Linked DNA regions of Homo sapiens: region 2 is linked to region 1. The links are contacts of gene promoters, found by promoter capture Hi-C in human tissues and cell types (Jung and others, 2019). All regions are on one chromosome and are shown on one strand. Each heading gives the region's core, a stretch centred on a gene start or on the middle of the fragment in contact. The rest is flanking DNA. Distances are from core to core; before and after follow the strand shown. Region 1 holds the start of PAEP (progestagen associated endometrial protein). Region 2 has its middle 9.6 kb from the start of GLT6D1.

Evidence for each region. The method cuts DNA at HindIII sites, captures the fragments that hold promoters and counts their contacts. A contact is called where the count stands out against the background at its distance.
Region 2: a contact is called between a fragment that was not itself captured here and the fragment with the promoter of PAEP in region 1, in 4 of the 25 tissues and cell types used here (adrenal gland, dorsolateral prefrontal cortex, lymphoblastoid cells and 1 more).

Annotation. Positions count from the first base shown.
Region 1 is chr9:135,560,232-135,563,375 of GRCh38, forward strand. It overlaps PAEP (progestagen associated endometrial protein), which reads left to right and starts at 1,525. Exons shown (of 7, transcript NM_002571.4): 1 at 1,525-1,666; 2 at 2,063-2,202; 3 at 2,589-2,662. The coding sequence starts at 1,571. The HindIII fragment of the contact is 9,434 bases long and covers 1-3,144 here.
Region 2 is chr9:135,647,572-135,650,715 of GRCh38, forward strand. No RefSeq gene overlaps it. Among named protein-coding and RNA genes, the nearest start is that of GLT6D1, 9.6 kb to the left of the region's middle. The HindIII fragment of the contact is 6,544 bases long and covers 1-3,144 here.

The DNA of each region.
Region 1 (3,144 bases), core at 275-2,774:
GTGTGGTGGCTCACACCTATAATTCCAGCACTTTGGGAGGCCGAGGTGAGCAGATCACTTGAGGTCAGCAGTTCGAGACCAGCTTGGCCAAAATAGTGAAAACCCCTCTCTACTAAAAATACAAACATTAGCCAGGTGTGGTGGTGGGCGCCTATAATCCCAGCTACTCTGGAGGCTGAAGCAGCAGGATTACTTGAACCTGGGATGCAGAGGTTGCAGTGAGTCAAGATCGTACCACTGCACTCCACCCTGGGCAACAGAGCAAGACTTGGCCTCAAAAAAATGTATATATGTATATATGTGTGTGTGTGTGTCACACACATGTCTATAGCTACCTACAAAATATCTTGCTGAGAATTTGATAGGAATTGCATTAAATCTCTAGGTTGAGTTGAGGAGAGCTAACACCTTTGCTGTGTTGAAGCTTCCAGCCCATGAACACATTGTGCCTGTCCTTTACCTTAGGTCTTTGATTTCCCTTCCTTGGGTTCAGAGTTTAAGTCCTGTCCATATTTGGTGAGATTTTTGCCTACATGCTGTGTGTGTGATTACAAATCCTGAATTTCCAGTTTCGGGTTCTGTCTACTCCTTGACACTGTGTGGGAACACGGTGGATTTTTGTGCGATTGACCTTGCTGACCTCACTCGGTTCTAGGAGGGGTTTTGTAGAGTTCTTGCAATTTTGTACCTGGGCAATGATGTTATATGCGAATAGAGACAGGTATACCTCCCCCTTCCCAATCTGCCTGCCTTTAGTTACCATTTCTTGCCTAGCTGCTCTGGCCGGAATGACCTGCTCTGATGGATGGGGGAGTGGGAGTGGACACCCGTGTCTTGCCTCAGGACTCAAGTGCTCTCCAGGGAGTGAGATGCGGGCTCGATTGTAAGTTACAAAGTGATGCTTCCCTGTGGGAAAAAGTACATCCAATATAGACTGTAGGACAAAGTCTGAAAGTCCACTGCCTCCCATTTCCACCCAGTCTTGCCTGTGAGTCAGAGAGAAACAGTGCTAACAGGCAGTGTGCACCTGTCCAGAGGCTGGCTGTTTGAGGGACACAGGTGTGCACACCTGGGGATGTCTGAGTGGAAGGTACAGGTCAGGATTATGACCGTGCAGTCAGTCACCCACTGGCATGATGTCTGTGGCATCCTGGGGCAGCCATGGGGCTCTCAGGCCCTCTGCCTGCCCCACAGGCCATACCCCTGCCCTGGACACAGCTGTCCTCAGTGCTGGCCTCTGACCCAACATTGTCCAGGAGCCCCAACCCAGAAGGTGCTCCCGCCGCTGCCAGCCTGGACCCGACCCAGGCCCCTCCCGCCTGAGGCCCTGCCAAGAACTGCCCAGCCCGGACACAGAGGAGGTTCCCGCGTGGACGCAGGGAAGAGCCTCCCATTGCCCCAGTGGAGGAAGCTGCCCAGGGGCCAAGGATGAGTCACAGGTTCGAGGAATCACATGGCGAGGCTGTGGGCGGGGATCTTGTCTGCCCTCCTCCTACATAAGGCCCCCTGAGCCCACACTGCCTCAGCATCCCTCTGGCTCCAGAGCTCAGAGCCACCCACAGCCGCAGCCATGCTGTGCCTCCTGCTCACCCTGGGCGTGGCCCTGGTCTGTGGTGTCCCGGCCATGGACATCCCCCAGACCAAGCAGGACCTGGAGCTCCCAAAGGTTTGAGGCTGGGGGAGCGGGCACTTTACTGTGGGAGGCCTGGGGCGGGTGGGAGCTGCGGGCAGGCAGGAAGCCCAGGATCTCAGAAACCTACAGGAAGCACAGAATGGACGCCATGACGTCAGGAAGCCCTCAGCCCTGCTCTCCATCTTTAGGGTGGCCTCTCTGGTTTCCCAGCATCCTAGGTGACTCATTATTTGGACTTTGGAACACTCCTGAGTTAGCACACACTGGTCATTTTAAGTACAGGAAATTTCATAGCCCAGGATCTGGTAGATAGCAGACAACCATCCAATGCTCACTGTACCCATCCCAGTTAGACTCAGCCCCGTCTGCACCGGGTGCAACGAGAGCCATGGTGGGGTGGGACCGCCGTGCAGCCCAAGGCCCCCTCAGTTGGCAGGGACCTGGCACTCCATGGCCATGGCGACCAACAACATCTCCCTCATGGCGACACTGAAGGCCCCTCTGAGGGTCCACATCACCTCACTGTTGCCCACCCCCGAGGACAACCTGGAGATCGTTCTGCACAGATGGTGGGTTTCTCATCATTGAGACGGGCTGGGCGGGGGCTCAGTCTCCCCCCTCAGGGGTCCAGGACTGGGTGGGTTGGGCGGAGCTGGACTTAGCCCCAGGCATTTTCTGACAGCCAGGGGCTTCACTGTGGCCCTTCCATGAGGGTGGGGTGGAAAACCAGGGCTCCAGACGTTCCCTGTCCCCTTGGATCCCCTGCCCCAGGCTCTGGGCCAACAGCCAACCACACAGTGCAGCCCCAGGTCAGACTGAGGAGAAGGTCTGGGCGGCTGCGGGCTGCGGTGCTCCTTGGACCCGGGGAAGTTCCCGTGGTGACCTGATTTTAGGAGTGACAGTGAAGGCAACTCCAATTCAAGTGGCCACTCATCCTATTGTCACCACCTTTCAGGGAGAACAACAGCTGTGTTGAGAAGAAGGTCCTTGGAGAGAAGACTGAGAATCCAAAGAAGTTCAAGATCAACTGTGAGTGTCCCCAGGCCCCAAGGGCTGGCTCAGTGCTGGCATGCTAGCCACGCTCTCCCAGAGGCGGCTCTGCTGGGGCATGAGGGAGTGGGGCCTGGCCTGTCCCCACTCTCTCTGCTTCAGGGAGTCAGAGTGTTTACTCCGGTCAACCTGATGCTGACCCCAGAGGCATCTTTTACCTGGAGGGCAGGGGAAGCACTAATTCTTGGCATGACATGACTGGATGTGGGTCTGCACTGTGCCCAGGCACAGGGGACAGGTGCTTTGTTGCACTGTTCACTCTGGCCTCACAAAAGGCCAGGGAGGCTGCAGGCGAGCAGGTGGGCAGGTGGGCAGGTGGGTAGGTGGGTAGGTGGATATGTATACAGGTGGGCAGGAGGGTAGGTGAACAGGTGGGTAGGTGGGCAGGTGGCTAGGTGAGTAAGTGGTTAGGTGAACAGGTGGGCAGGTGAGCAGGTGGTTAGGTGAACAGGTGGGCAGGT
Region 2 (3,144 bases), core at 265-2,764, 87 kb after region 1:
GAGTTTGGGACTTTTCCTGTTTCTGAGACAGTAGAGAGCAGTCTTCAGCCTGGGCCCCATTTCTAGGTAAGTAGCTGAATTGGAGTTTTGTCTTGAAAATTCTCCCTCATGACTAAAAGTTAAGATTGACCACCGCCTGGTCTTCATTTCTGCTTCCATTAGAGAGCTCAGTAATCATATTGCCAGAAATTATAAGTTCCTCTTCAAAGCTTCTTTGGTCTTTCTTGCTCTGTACACAGCCCTTCCTGCTTAATCTGTAATGAGCACTTGTTTTTCTGCTTAATCTGTAACCTGCAAACCTCTTACTCTGTAAACAACTCTTCCCACCTAGTTGGTAAGGAACAGCCTCTCCCTTCCCGCATAATTGGCCTTATTCAATTTCAAACACTAGCCAATCGGGTCAGTTTAGACTGTGCAGTCCAACTCCAGCCAATGGGGAAAGGACACAGAAACAGGAACTGCATCAGCCAATGGGGAAAGGACACAGAAACAGGAACTGCATTAGGGGTAAAAACCCCTGCCCTCCCAGCTTGGTGTGCTCTTGCGATTGTGACTGATGCAGGCAGCACCCTTCTGCAGAAGTAAATGTGCCTTGCTGAGAAATTTTCTGCCTGGTTTTCTTTGCAGCACCAAGCATTTTTTTCTAACAATATAGTTTGGTTTCATTGTCGTTTTGGTCTTTCTCCCATTGGATTTGACCATCTCTACCTGACTTGGCCAAATCTGAATGAGAATTCCACACTATGGGTAACAAGCCCTCTGGATTGGCTAAAATTCCTTGAAGCTGCAAAAGAGAAAAAAAAAACATTCACTTGATTTCTCTGTGTGCTTCCTTTCTTAAAAAATTATTCTTTTATTTTTCTTCCACCCTATTTCTCCCAAAAAGGGGAAGCCCTTTTGCCATCTTTGGTACCAAGTGAAAAAAATGTCTACAGAAGGGTTCTAATTGAAGCGGCGTTGTTGTCTGGGGTAAATACCTGAGGTTTGTCATCTCACACCAGGGAAGTTGAGGATGCAGACACACAAGAAGTGAGTTTAAGATCAGAGGCTTAATAGGCAAAGGAAAGAGAAAAGAGGATAGCTCTCTCACCTGCGGAGAGAGAGGGGCGTCTGAGTGGGTCTTCCAGGTCCTTGGTGAAATGCACGAGGTTTTATAGACGAGCTTGAGGAGGCAATATCTGATTTACATAGGACATGAGAGATTGGTCAGACTAGGCATGCCATTTGCATAGTGCACAAAGAAGCTGGCCGACCCACCCTAATCTTTTATTATCCAGATGGGGTCTCTACCTGGCCAGTGTCATATTGCCTGCCTTTTACCACACAGGTGGCGACCAAGAAAAGGGAAGGGGGATCCTTCATGTTGAACAGACTTGGCTTCCAGGTATCCCTCTTCTATCACCACAGCTGCTAGCATTTACCTATGTAAGCTTTTAGCTTGTTTATCTATACTTGCAGCTTGATTTTTCAGGCTGCTTTTTGTTAGGAAAGAAATGATTGGGGGCTGCTTTTTATTAAAAGGAAACCTTGCTGAGGACTCTCTTACCCTCCTTATCTGCCTGAATTTCTTTCTCACTCCTGTATCATAATGACTTGGATCCTTAAATAACTCAGAATAAAGGCACCACTCACCCTGTGCGGGGGTGTTCTGCTTTCTGTGTGGAGTTTTCAGAGTCATGGCAGGTTTTTCTTAGGTCTAAAGTTCTGCTTTCCTGTATTGCATTACTTGACTTCTTTGACTTTTAGAGATACCAGAGATTACTCTGTACTGTGAGAATATTTGACCTTGGTGTGTGTCATGGCAGATGAGAGCTACAACGTTAGGGAAGGCTGAGGACAGTTTACAGGAAATGGTCATTACTACAGGGGGCCACTCATTGCACATTTAGATCAGAAAATTGTGCATGCTTTCTTGGCTCTGTTCCTTAGAGGGCTCCACCCTAAAGCCAGTGACCTAATCAAGCTCCGCTGAAAATACTACCTATCAAACTAAGTCACTTCAATAAAATTCTGTGTAAAGGAAATTTATGTCTTTAAAGGAAATTTCCATTTTGTAAGGACATCTCTGTCTCTGCGTCTAAACCACTAGGAACTTTAACTAAGGGGGAGACAATGGCTTCATTTACATAACAGACCTTGCCTTTTTTAGATCCAAGTCTGTGCCTTTGAGATGTACATTTTTTACCTTGCTTCACCTAAGTCATGTATTTGGAGATGTAAATTTAGAGTTACCTAGTTAACAATTGTTTAAGACATGGAATAGATAATCAAGAGATTAGTGGTATAAAGTAGGGAAGAAAAAAACTTTGAAAACAGGCAAGTGAAACATTTTAAATCCCTAAGATTTGCCTCTGTCTGTGTCTGTTAAGTCTGTGTGTTTATGTGTCACATGGAAACAATATTTCACTACCAATCATATGAAAGAGCTCTAATTAGTTGGCTTAAAGAAAAGTAAGTGTTTGTAGACTAATAGAAGCTAGCCCAGAGGCCTTTCAGCTCACATGACTTTAGTAATCTTTGGTAAGATTAATTTGGTAAATGTAATCTCACAATTCTCTCCAGTAATTGAAAATCTTAAAGTCATGTTGTGTTAAATTAAGTCATCCTAGGTTTTTTGCTGGAAATTAGGGTTTCTAAGAGAATAGTAGGAAAGTAAGATGCATTTTTGGTGAAGTTTATTTAAAAAACATGAGGATGTGGTTTTTGCTCAATGAAACATATTTTTTTTCTAGTTTAAAGGACCTTTCTGCTGGTGTCGAAGATAAAAACCGCTATTCACATCCAACCGTTCTTTTGTAAACTGGTGAGTTTGCATTGGTACCTCCTGGCTGGAATTCCAAGGCAAAAGCTATGGGACCTTTATTTGTGTGTGTGTGTGCGCGCACGCGTGCACATGTGTGATTGTGCGAGTGTGTGTGTGAGTGTGCATGTGTGTGGTGTGTGTGCGAGTGTGTGTGTGCATGTATGTGAATGTGTTCATGTGCATGTGCAAGTGTGTGGTGTGTGTGTGCGCAAATGTATGCATGTGCGTGTGCGAGTGTGTGGTGTGTGCGAGTGTGTGTGCACGTGTGTGTCATGTGAGTTTTGTGTGTGCGAGTGTGTGCATGTGTGGTGTGTGCATGTGCGAGTGTGTGTGCAAATGTG